Linked DNA regions of Homo sapiens: region 2 is linked to region 1. The links are contacts of gene promoters, found by promoter capture Hi-C in human tissues and cell types (Jung and others, 2019). All regions are on one chromosome and are shown on one strand. The core of a region is centred on a gene start or on the middle of the fragment in contact, and the rest is flanking DNA. Distances in the headings are between cores, read along the strand shown.

What was found. Contacts are between HindIII fragments. The study calls those that stand out against the background at their distance.
Region 2: a contact is called between a fragment that was not itself captured here and the fragment with the promoter of DCLK2 in region 1, in 1 of the 25 tissues and cell types used here (mesendoderm cells).

Annotation. Positions count from the first base shown.
Region 1 is chr4:150,074,262-150,081,041 of GRCh38, reverse strand. It overlaps DCLK2 (doublecortin like kinase 2), which reads right to left and starts at 2,597. Exons shown (of 16, transcript NM_001040260.4): 1 at 1,594-2,597. The coding sequence starts at 2,014. The HindIII fragment of the contact is 8,036 bases long and covers 1-4,120 here.
Region 2 is chr4:150,393,503-150,400,282 of GRCh38, reverse strand. The region is part of intron 47 of LRBA (LPS responsive beige-like anchor protein); the gene reads left to right. Among named protein-coding and RNA genes, the nearest start is that of LRBA-AS1, 180 kb to the left of the region's middle. The HindIII fragment of the contact is 5,133 bases long and covers 1-4,993 here.

The sequences.
Region 1 (6,780 bases), core at 1,348-3,847:
AAAATAGCTAGGCAAATATTGCTTTTAAGTGTTTAACATGATTAAGAAAAGCAACAAGGCCCTTTGAACATTGTATCTTCCTTTTTTACTTATACTCCTCCAGCTATCCCCTTACCTCCTCAAGAAGCCCTTAAAACCAAAACACACAACTGACAGAATGGGTGAAGTCACAAGCACATACATATGTAGACTGAAGAGACAATTTAATTTTGGCTGGGTCGCGTTCTAGGCAGGGCAGCAAAAACTTCTGACTAAATAGACAAACTCAACGACCTTTAGTTTTCCTCCATGTGGCTCCATTAGCTCAGCAGAGGTGAATCGTAGACGAGAAAGTATATGCTGCAGGCACTGTGAGGCAAGGCATGCTGCCTAAGTTTCCTCATCTATAAAATGGGGATAATGCCTTCAGGACAGAAAAGCATGCTGAGATAATATAAGAAAAACATCTGGCTTGATGTTCAGCTTCCTCTCCCTGCCAAGCTATTGCTATGACTACATGGAATGTGCCATTTGCATTAAGAAAGATGCACAAGAGCGGACTGTATGTAAACACGCAGTCAGCACATACCTGGGTTCTGCCTGGTCTTTCTGGATGTTATTTAGAACTGGAAACAGGTTCTTAACCACTGATAATGCCTTTTCTACCTGAAAAGGATGAGGCATACGTATTGCAGGAATTCAAGGATGACCCAACATCCAGCCAAGCAGTCTCTTTGACCGAGGCATGGTTGACACAGCAGAATTACTAATTTTTAATAAGTCCCCACTGCTGAATCCAATGGCCTCTATCATTCTAATTAGGTACTCTTATTAGAGGATAAGGCTGGAGAGATTGACCTTGATTTACCTTTTTTCCAACCAAATGTGGAAAACCCTTTAGCACGGTGATTGTTAACCAGGGTCCCACATTAGAATCACCTGGGGGGGGGGCTTTTGAGACTCCAGACGCCTAACCCACACCCCAAACCCAACCAATTTAATCAGGATATCTGGGGGTTGGGGGATCAGGGTCCCATATTTTTCGAAGTCCCCAGTGTGATCCAAGATGAAGCCAAGGTTGAGACCTGCTGTCTAGGATCATCCCTCTTCACCTCAAGTAACTTCTGCTGCAAGGCAAACTAGGAAAGCCAACCTAGAGCATTTCACAACCACAGCTTCTGACAGCAGTCACAACAGGACCCCGAATACTGGAACATGACAGGAGCCTGCACCAGGGTCCACACCGAGGGTCCAACAGAGCTTATTAGTAGGGGATTACCCAGCTCCCCATGGGAGAACCATTTTCTCAAACAGTTTGCACTTCAATACAAATAAGTTCAACAATCTTAGGAGATGCCACCAGTGCCTAAATTGGCCTGACCATCAGGAAATTTTTTCCTTCTTTAAGAGACAAACCTCTTGGGAAGGAAAGTCAGTGTGTATGTGGGCACCCCACCGGCCCCCACCCCCAGCCAATCTCTAGAGAAGCAGACAGAAGCATCAATTCCCGTGCGGCTTGGAAAGCACCCCGCGGGCTCCCCGCTGCGCCGGCTCACGCCCACTGCACCTGCCGGCGCTCCGCCGCACCTGCCGTGCGGCGCCCTCCCCTCCTACCTTCCAGCAGCTCGTCCAGGCTGGTGACCTTCCGGCTGCCGTCGATGGTGTAGATAGTGCGGACACCCTGGGGCAGGTTCACGTTGTCCGACAGGGAGCGGGTGAGCTCTATGAGGAGCGCATCGAAGGACCGGAAGCGGTCGCTGGAGATGGCAAACACCAGGCCCTTGAAGTAGCGGTCCCCGTTCCGGTAGAAGCGCGCCTTCTTGGCCTTCTTCTCCGAGCTGAGGGCCTGCAGGGTCCGCGTGCGGTAGAAGCTGCAGTGGGCACTGTGCGCCGGACTGGGGATGAGCCCGTTCCCCTTGGGGCCCGAGCTGCTGCTGCCCCCGGAGGAGCTGGGGGCCCCTCTCCGCGACCCCGGCCGCGGCCTTTTGTCCCGTTCCTCAAAGTGCTCCAGCTCGATACTCCTGGTGCTGGCCATCGCGGCTGCTCCGAGGGCGTCCGCAAAAAGACGTTCCGGGCCGACTAAGGGTGCGAGCGCCGGTGCAGGGACGTCTGACTGCGAGGGCCCTTAACGCGCCGGGACACCTGGCTCTGGCATCCCGCCCTCTCCGCGCAGGTGGGGCCGAGGAGCCGCGGAGGAGCCGACCCGCCCGCGCCCTCAGCTAAAAGTGTCCGCAGCGCCGAGCTGCCCAGGTCATTGTCCAGTGCGACTTGCTCCGTGCCTCCCGCCTGCCGGGGAGCCCCACGCCCCCGCAAGCGCCTCCTCCACCCGGCCACGCCTCACAAGTCCCGCTCGGGAGCCGACCGGGAGAGGCAAAGTTGGGCCGCCCGAGGCTCGCGCTGGGCCCGCGGGCGCCCACAAAGCTCGGGCGTCTGCCGAGCGCTCCCGGGAGCGCCGAGGGGAGGAAGGAAGGAAGGGTGGGGCGGGGCGCGGAGCGTGGGAGAGGCCCCCGGGGGAGTCGCGCGGGCCCAGGCCCGGGGTGCAGCGCCGCCGCCTCGGCCGCGCCCGGATCCCGCCCGCCGGGCAGCGCGCGCCGTTCGGGGCTGAGAGGGCCGTGTCTGGCCCCTTCCTTCCCTGGAGCGCGGCCCTAGCGGGAAATAATGCAGCCCGCCTCCCACGCAGCGGTCAGGCCCGGCCCACTGGCAAGCATCCGCGCTCTGGCCTCCCTCCGCCGCCGACAGGCTGTCAGCGCTGGAGGAGGCTTCCCGGCCCCGGGGATGCCAAACCGCGGAGAAGGGGAGGAGGGGGCGGAGGAGGGGGCGGAGGAGGGGGCCGAGCGCCGGCGCGGGAGGAGCAGCTCCTGCGGGTCCCGGGCAGCCCCGCCCGCCTGACGGCTCCTGCCCGGCGCCGCGCGTTAATGGGCGCAGCCGCGACGCGCGCTCCTCCGCCTGGGAAACGTAACCGCGCAGGCCAAAAACTACAAAGGAAGGAGATTCAAGGGCAGGGAGCACATCCCCAGCCAGCATCCCAGTGAGGACCCCAGGCCAAACTACCGCAGAAATCCGAAGCCCAGCATTGACTTGGGGCACACCATTCATTTTTTTTAAAAAAGATTTGTTGCTTTATTAGAAAATCCTTTGAGAAAACAGCCTCCACTGTTTCCATTGCAGATTCGCTAATATGGTACGTTCAGTAACTTTGAATGAATGATGAGAAGTTATTGGGTGGTAGAGGGGGTTATGTAATCAACGAATATTTATCGAGAGCGTACCATGTGTCAGGCATTGTTTCTGTCACTGGGATGCCCTAACAAAGGAAAGAGAGACTCTGCACCCACTCCCCCCGCCCCGCATATTTAATGTTGTCAATTAAAGCTTCTTACCTAAGAGGCCTATCATTTGTGAGCACCCATCATAGTGGAAATCTTAATGCCGTAGTGTCTATTCAACAATAAAAACATCTTTTCCAAGACTTAAGAGAAATACTAGTTACTTGCATTTTGTTATTAGGAAAAATAAAGCTCAAATATGTTTGATCCCAATTTGGCACGTGAAACCTTAGAACATTCAACACCTGGTTTTCTGAGCAGCCCTAGACAGCAATCCAAACTGACCTTTCAGGAAGAAAGGCATAGTTGCTTTTTTTCGGGTTGAACTGAGTCCTGGAAGAGCATGAATAAAAGAAGGTAGAAGCACATGCAACGGTCTAGCATCTGTGAAGTTGGTGCGCCCCACCAAACACACGCACACACACGCATACACACCCTTCATGGCAGCTCCAGAAAGGTCTCCTGCTCGGTGCACAATACTACTCCTAAGGCAGTTCTGGGCATACACCTGGGCATACCTAACTTCCTGCGGGGTTGGGGCATGCTAGGAAGTCAGAGCTGATCTGAGGCTTCAATGTAGTTTTTCTAGAGGAAAATCCTGCAGCATCATTAGGTCCACCACCTTAAAAGGCCTCAACCTAGATCAGTTAAATCAGAATTTCTGGAGACGGGCTTCTCCAACAGTATTTTTTTAAAAGTACCCCTAAGGTATATCCAGAGTTTCCAACCACAGGCTGTAACACCAGGAATCAAATAAATCAGTGCTTCTTCTCAAACTTTAATATATTTACATGTCATAGGGGAATCTCGTTAAAATGCAGATTGCTATTCTGTAGCTCTGGGGTGGAGTTTGAGATTCTGCATTTCTGATGAGCCCCTGGGTAATGCCAATGCTGCTGGTCTTGGTACAAGACTTTGAGAAACAAGAAACTAAATTGCAAATTTATTGAGATAAGTTTCCATCTAAGTACCAGTAACTCCACAGAGCCCATCAACTTGCCTTAAGATGGCCATGTTCATTTGTATCACTGTTAGTATTTCTTAGGGGGAAAAAGACTTTGTAAACTATTGCTGTAGAAACAAATTATCCTAAACTTAATGATTTACAACAATAAACATGCATAATCTCAGCATTTTTGGCAGATCGGAAATCTGGGAGCAGTTTACCTCAAAGCCTCATGTGATTGCTGTCAAGATGTTGACAGGGGTCACAGCCATCTAAAGGCTTGACTGGGTCAAGAAGATCCATTTCCAAGACAGCCCATTCACATGAATGGTAAGGAGGCCTCAGTTCCTTGTCATGAGTACCTTTCCATAGAGTTGCTTAAGTGTCACCATGACTTGTCGGTTGGCTTCCTCTAGAGCAGGGGTGTCCAATCTTTTGGCTTCCCTGGGGCACATTGGAAGAAGAATTGTCTTGGGCCACACAGGAAATACACTAACATTAATGATGGCTGATGAGCTAAAAAAAAAAAAAAAATCACAAAATCTCATAATATTTTAAGAAAGTTTACGAATTTGCATTGGGCTGCATTCATAACTGTCCTGGGCTGTGTACAGTCCACAGGCCATGGGTTGGACAAGCTTGCTCTAGAGAAAGCATCCAAGAGAGCACAAGGTGGAAGCCACAATGTGTGTTATGATATAGCCTTGGAAGTCATACACTGTTATTCCCACAATATCCTGTAGGTTACACAAGGCAGCCCTGTTTGATGTGGGAGGAGACTACACTAGGGTGTGACTAGGAGTCAGCAATTATTGGGGTCATCTTGCAGACTGGTACCACGGGTTTCAATCTTTCAATCTTTAGAACACTAACATGCACTTCCTCACTCAAAGATCCTTGATAAGAGATTTGGCCCTTCTTAAATAGTGAGTACAATTATACAATATGCCAGTATTTTTAACTCAAGGTGGATTAAAGACTTAAATGTAAAACCCCAAACCATAAAAACCCTAGAAGAAAACCTAGGCAATATCATTCAGGACATAGGGATGAGTGAGGACTTCATGGTGAAAACACCAAAAGCAATTGCGACAAACGCCAAAATTGACAAATGGAAATAAAGAGCTTCTGCACAGCAAAAGAAACTATCACCAAAGTAAACAGTCAACCTACAGAATGGGAGAAAATTTTTGCAGTCTACCCATCAGACAAAGGTCTAATATCCAGAATTTACAAGGAACTTAAACAAATTTACAAGGAAAGAAACAACCCCATCAAAAAGTGGGCAAAGGATATAAACAGACATTTTTCAAAAGAAGACATTTACATAGCTAACAGACATATGAAAAAAAGCTCAACATCGCTGATCATCAGAGAAATGCAAATCAAAACCTCAATGAGATATCATTTCATGGCAGTCAAAATGGTAATTATTAAAAAGTCAAGAAACAGTAGATGCTGGCGAGGCTGTGGAGAAATAGGAACACTTTTACACTGTTGGTGGGAATGTAAATTAGTTCAACCATTGTGGAAGACAATATGGCAATTCCTTAAGGATCTAGAACCAGAAATACTATTTGACCCAGCAACCCCATTACTGGGTATATACCCAAAGGAATATGAATCATTCTGCTATAAAGACACACACACACACGTATGTTTACTGCAGCACTGTTTACAATAGCAAAGTCATGGAACCAACCCAAATGCCCATCAGTGATAGACTGCATAAAGAAAATGTGGCACATGCACGCCATGGAATACTATGCAGCCATAAAAAAGAATAAGATCATGTCCTTTGCAGGGATATGGATGAAACTGGAAGCCATCATCCTCAGCAAACTAACACAGGGACAGAAAACCAAATGCCCCATGTTCTCACTCATAAGTAGAAGTTGAACAATGAGAACACATGGACACAGGGAGGGGAACAACACACACCAAGGCCTGTTGGAGGGTGGGGTACAAGGGGAGGGAACTTAGAGGACAGGTCAATAAGTACAGCAAACCACCTTGGAACACGTATACATGTATACCTTTGCACATTCTGCACATGTATCCTGGAATTTAAAGTAAAATTTAAAAAAATAAAAATATGCCAGTATTTTAACATTATTCCCTAACATTATATCCTTAAGTTAAAGAAAGGTTACTGCTTTTCAACAGGGGTAGGGGGAAAAGAGAAAGTATTTCCAAAGCTGTTACTTAGTTAAAAAATGTTTTTTTGATCCTACTCTCCACACTTGTTTTCTTGAAGAATCTTATTTGTGATCCTCTTATAAGAATTGAGATGCAATCACTTTTCATAAGGTATCTATGAAAAAATATGATATAAAGACCCAGTTGGTCAACATTTGAAGATTTGTTGAGGTAGGAAAAAATTAGTTTCAGTATTCAAATTCTAATGCAAACAAAATTTGTAGGTTCTAGGTAGGCAACTATTACTTAACTTGGCTTACTTCATGATATTCAATTTATAGAACCGAAGCAGATTTTTTTCCTTTCATGCAGTTGCAGAATTTGCAGAGT
Region 2 (6,780 bases), core at 1,178-3,677, 320 kb before region 1:
TATGAAGATATTTATAAATTGGATACTCCCTAAATTGGAGGCTCTCACAAATACTGCTTAAAATTCTTCAGTGGTTACTTATAGCTTTCCCAGCTTTACAACATGACTTGGAATGATCTTCACAATTTACCTGCTTACTTCCCCAACTTCATCTCTTGAAAACTATAGTCCAGTAACACTGAACAATGTACACTTCTCTAAAATGGCTGTGTTCTCTCACATCTTATAAGCTGTTTCCTTTGCCTACAAAAATGCCAGATTCCTCCCCCTTGGGAAGCCTTGATTGATTGATTGATTGATTGTTTGATTGACAGAGTCTCACTTCATCACCCTGGCTGGAGTGCAGTGGTGCGATCTCCGCCCACTGAAACTTCCACCTCCTGAGTTCAAGTGATTCTCATGCCTCAGCCTCCCGTGTAGCTGGCATTACAGGCGCCACACTACCACACTCAGCTGCTAATTTTTGTATTTTTAGTAGAGACGGGGTTTCACCATATTGGCCAGGCACATCTCCAGCTCTTGACCTCAAGTGCTGTAATCCCACCCAAAGTGCTGGGACTACTCATATAAGCCACCACGCCATCCAGAAAGCCTTTAATTATACCTCTATCCACTCTTCAACATTCCCTCACCACCAACCACGCCAACAGAGTCCGCCTGAGATGTTTCTCCTGTGTTCTCTTTTAAGTGGACATACTTAACAGCTAGCATGTTAGTGGTGGCTCAGCATCTCATTTTCACCATGAGATGTTGAGCCGCTTGAGGACCTCTCTTATTCTTTGTTTTCGCAACTGTAGCACAATATCTGGTCTATATGGGGTATCATGGTCATGTTTGCTGAAAGAATGAAAAATGGATGAGTCTTCAAAAAGTATCAGAAGAGAACCAAAATGCTTTATGACAACAGCAGAGCTTGAGCATCTTGAGAACCAACTTTGCCCAAGAATATTGATTAGTAGTTTCTGCCATGGTCACAGGAAAGGAGAATTTAGCATTTTGTGTCTCTGTGTGTCATACCTGAATAAGAGTCTATTGGTGCAAAAGAGCATATCCAATAGTGATATTCATAAAATAAGTGACGCAAAATAGTCCATGCAGGATGGGCACAGTATTTCAATAAAATACAGGTAGTTAAGTAAAGGTAATTTCTAGTTGAGTACATAACTGAGACAGAAAATATGTGCATAGCAATTTTAAGGTATGTTAATAAAAAAGATAAAGAATTTACTAAAATTAAATTGCAAGAATTCTGCAACCATATTTTCTTTGCAATTTAATTTTCTGTATTTTAATTTCTTGGGATATATTTATATTTGGCAGTATAGGATGGAATTTTCAAAAACAATATTGAAAAGGGCTGGGCATGGTGGCTCACACCTGTAAATCCCGGCACTCTGGGAGGCTAAAGCAGAGGATTGCTTGAGCCCAGGAGTTTGAGACCAGCCTGAACAACACAGCAAGACTCTGTCTCTACAAAAAACAAAAAAACTTATCTAGGTGTGGTAGCACATGCCGGTAGTTCCATCTACATGGGAGGCTGATGTGGGATGATCACTTGAGCCCAGTAAGTAGAGGCTGCAGTGAGCTGTGATGGCACTACTACACTCCAGCCTGGGTGACAGAGCAAGACCTTGTCTCAAAAAAAAAAAGAAAGAAAGAAAATTGGAAAACAAGTCTAAAATGTTTAGGTGTAAGATATCCACCTTCATGAATGCCTCTTAATTAATAGTTTCCTCTATTACTTAAGAAATACATTAATTATTCAGAAGTAAAAAATAATTTTTCCTATGAATCGTTTTATACCAAATGCAATAGTTATTTTTCAGTAAAAGCAAAATAATTGTTCTACATAGCATACTAGAAACATTGAGAGCAAAAGTAAGGACCACTTTTTGTCCAGCAGCATTTACTTTTTCATTTTTATGAGCTCGTGAAATCTACCTCTGTCAATTGGCTTATTTTCTTCTGGGCTCCACAGTATTTTTCTTTGAAAGTGTTTTACTGCATTTCCCTTCGGTTAGTCTTATTGATTGTATAGTCAATTTGTAATTGTTTTTTCTAAGTAAAATCTTTCATACATTGTACTTTGTTAGTCCCATGCTTATTTAGATCTGTTCCATTCACCATCTCACATATTTCTATTCCACCAACAGAATGTCTGTGGAGAAAAACTCTTGCCAGGATCTCATGATCCCTTATTTTCTTCTTTCTACTTTTTTTCTGTGCTAGAGAAGATACTAAAATATATATGTAATTATTTTTGTAATGCTCACTGTGCAACATATTTTCAATAGACAAAATTTATATTTCGCTTTGTTTAATGGGATTTTGTTCATTAAACTTTAGATTTTTAGAAGGATAATAAGAGCTGTCGTGCGTTGAACACTTAATAATATGCACCAGACATTGTTGTAAGCCATTTATGGATTAACTCATCTAGGTCTCACAATAAGTTTATGAGGTAAGTGCTATTATTACTCTCAACCTGTAGATTAGAAACTTGAGGCATAGAGAGTTTAGGTAACTTGTGAGTTTAGGTAACTTGTCACAGCAATCATAAATATTGAACTGGGATTCCAGTGCAAGAAACCTGTGTTGTTATACTCTACATTATACTTCCTATGATAAAATTATACTACTGCATATGTTTTAATAAGTTTTAGTTGTACAAATGAGACCATACCTATTTTAAGAATACATTCTTAGGCCTGGCATGGTGGCACATATCTATAATCCCAGTGCTTTGGGAGGCCAAGGGAGGAGGATTGCTTGAGCCTGGGAGTTTGAAGCTAGCTTGGACAACATAGTAAGACCCCATCTCTACAAAAAGTAAAAATATTAGCTGGGCATGGTGTCATGTGCCTGTAGTCCCAGCTACTTGGGAGCCTGAGGCAGAAGGATGCTTGAGCCTGGGAGGCTGAGGCTGCAGCAAACCCTGATTGTGTCACTGCACTCCAGACCAGGCAACAGAGCAAGACCCTGTCTTCAAAAAAGAAAAAAATGAATACCTTTTTGTATCGTACATTGTATGAAAATATGCACTTAATGAGAGGAAAATTACTTTCATTTTTCACTTTTCATCAGAAAAAATATGAAAATTTATTTTATTTTAGAATTCGGAGAAAAGAAAAATTTAGGATATAAAAATGTAGTATATAAGATGTGTTTATGTGTATGATATCTCAATGTAATAAAAACATTACAAGGACATACACCTACTCCAGTGTCTTAAAGCGTCAGTGTTTTTTTGCTTTTCTCTTTCCGTTGCTTTTCAAATGTTTTTAATGATTAGTTATTATTTTTAATAATGGAAATAAATAGTAAATTGTGTTTTGAAAGTGGGAACAAGTGGCAAATAAAGTTTTGTAGTTGTATTAAGATTTCCCAGAGAATCAGAGCCAATAACATCTATATATGTTTATGTGTGTGAGTGTTTGTATAATAAAAGAAACCTATGCCACAGCCATATAGAAAATTCATTGTCCTAATCATTTCCTATTTTTTCTAGACTATAAGTTTATTCATTTCATATGGCACTTGTCAAGTGTCAGTACCTGGGAAAGGCTTGTGAGCAAACATTTTTCATCAATCTCTAATTAGTAAATAAACCAATACATTCGTATTCTACTACTAGTTGATTCTCTAGAGTGATTGAAAAGAATTTTCCCTCAATAGCTTTTCCCTGTAGACTACTATTATGGTTAATTTTATATGCCAGCTTGAGTGGGTTGAGGGATGCCAGGATAAGTGATAAACATTATTTCTGGGAGTACGTGTGTGTGTGTGTGTGTGTGTGTGTGTGAGATGAGATTTATTATGGGAATTGGCATGTGTGATTATGGGGGCTGAGAAGCACCACAGTATGCCATATTCAAGCTAGAGACCCAGAGGCTGGTGGTACAATTCAGCCCAAGTGTGAAGTCTTAAGAACCAGGGGAACCAATGGTGTAACTCCCAGTCTGATGCCAAAGGCCTAAATTCCCAGGAGTAGGGCACTGGTGTAAGTCCCTGAGTCTGAAGACTCACAGACCAGGAGCTCTAATGCCTAAGGGCAAGAGAAGATGGGTGTCTCAACTCAAGGAGTGGGTGGAGGGAATTCATCCTTCTGCTTTTTTATTCTGTTCTGGTACTCATTGGATTGGATGATACCTGCCCATGTTAGTGAGAGTGGATCTTCTTTGTTTAGTGTGCTGATTCAGATGCTAACCTTTTCTGGAAACACCCTCACAGACATTCTCAGAAATAATGTCTTACCAGCTATCTGGGCATCCCGCAGCCCACTCAAGTTGACACAAAATTAATCATCATAATAGTCTACGGGGGAAAGATGCTGAGGGAAATTTTTTTTTCAATTCTAGAGAATCAATTACCAGTAGAATACTGTAGATTGTACTGAAAGATTGTTGGTTTATTTACTAAATAGCAATTGATTAAAAATGTTCACTCAAACCTTTCCCAGACACTGATATTTGACAAGTGCCATATGAAATGAATAAGCTTATAGTATAGGAAAAGATTAAGATAATGGAATTTTTTGTATGGCCATTGCATAGGTTTCTTGGGAAAGAATAGCCAGGGATGAGGCTTGGGAGGTTAAGTTGAGGTCACATTTATGAAGAGGCATTTATACCTTGCTGAGGAGTTGGTACTTTCTCTTACAGACAGCCAGGAACTGCTAAAAAGACATGGGAATGATATAATTATATTTAATTTATTCATTAGGAAGATGGCAGTGTGAGTATCGGACTCAAGCTAGGAAAGAATGGAGACAGGAAAATCAATTAGGAGGCCATAACAGTTAAAGGAAATTAAGCAGGAGATGATGACCTTAGTTAAAACAATGACAGAGAGGACAGAGAAGACATTCTAGATTCTAGAGACATATCAGAGTCATAAAGAACATAAGGGGAAGAAGTTGAAGATAATATTGAGATTTTTAACTAAAGTTACTGCATGAATTGTCATACTAACAATTGAAATAGGCATTACAGAAAGAGGAAAAGATAAGTTCTTTGAGGAAGATAAATTCAGTTTTAGACATGTTACAGTAAATATATTAATATGGAATTTAAATATATTAAGGTAAATAATAGGATAGATGATAATTCTATTATGTACACTTAATCCCATTTTTATCTTCTTTAGTAATAGATAATATTAGCATATAATTGATTGAAGTAATTAGAACATCTTTTCCTAACTCTGCTGGCTCATTTTTACCACAGTAGCCTTTCTTATCTCTTATATGAACTATGGTAATAACGTCCTTCTAGTCTCCCTATCACTTTTTTATACATTTGATACACTGCTGATAAATATATCTTGCAAATGGGCAGTACAATTGTGTTATGCTCCTGCATTTAAGCCATGACTACAAGCATATAATAGTGTTTATTCAGGTACTCACTGGTCTTGGGTGGGATTGTTCCCTACAGACCACCTGCTCCCCACCATCTCACCATGACACCTCTACTACATGTAGATTAAGCTTATAGTATATTATCACAAAAATATTCTGTTTTCAACATTCTATTTTCAAATAACTCTTATACCAAGTGAAGCCTGTGCCATGTAAATTCTACCCATTGGTCCTCATTCTAGCTCTAAGGCTTAAACAAAGCAAATTAAATCTCACTTTAGTCCTGATATGTAAAGACAATAGCCATGCCTGCCAGGTTTTCTTTCTTTCTATGACATCACAGTTGTACTTTGTACTTCTCTTTTAACCCTTTACTCTGCCATTTATTATACTTTCTACCTATTAGCTTTATCCTCCTGTGCCCCCTCCTCCGTTACTTGTAAATAGTGACTTAAACTTAGTAAACTTTCAGTGAATATTTATTGATAGACCTACAACTCTAACTTAAGTACCATAATTAACATATCTAATTAATTTGATCACATATTTTACACTTTTCATATCAACTGCCTCTGTAATTTTATAAAATTTTATGACATATGCATGGTCATGTCTGAATGAATATGCATTCATACTCAGAATATTTGGAGATTAATCCCAGAGCTTCAGTATTAGCTAACTTTTGACCACAGCTGTGTTACTTAACCTCTCTTGGCTGTAAATAGATAATAGATATTTAATACAGGCAGTAGGTTTTAAACATGACAGATTTAGAATAGGAATAATATTGAATGATCACAAGGCCTCTAAGGCAAAGAAATTGTTATGTAAAAGAAGATTAAATCTTCTCTGCTGTGGTAACATAAAATAATGATTGGTAACACTGTTGATGTGGAAATGCATTCAGTAGAGAAAAGTAATAGGTGAGTCCTATTGCTGCATTTCTTACAAGGGCATCTGAAGTTACTTATTACTCTTGTGAAAACATGTTGACCTACTCTTTATGTAAAAGTGTCTGCAATTATAAAGTCAACATTAATAATCTAGCATTGGTTGATAGAATCTGCATTTCAACTCCATAGAAATTAGTGGTTATAGACAACTTGAGATCAATGATGCTATAAAGAAACAAACTATGGACCAAGGGCAGTGGCTCATGCCCATAATCCCAACACTTTGGGAGGCCAAGGTGGGAGGATGACTTCAGGCCAGGAGTTCAAGACCTGCCTGGGAAACATCCCAAGACCCCATCTCTACAAAAAGTTTAAACAATTAGCCAAGTGTAGTGATGCACACCTTTAGTCCCAGCTACTAGGGAGGCTGAGGTGGGAGGATCACTTGAGCCCAGGAGTTTGAGGTTACAGTGTGCTAGGATCATACCACTGCACTATAGCATGGCAACAGAGGGAGACCCTGTCTCT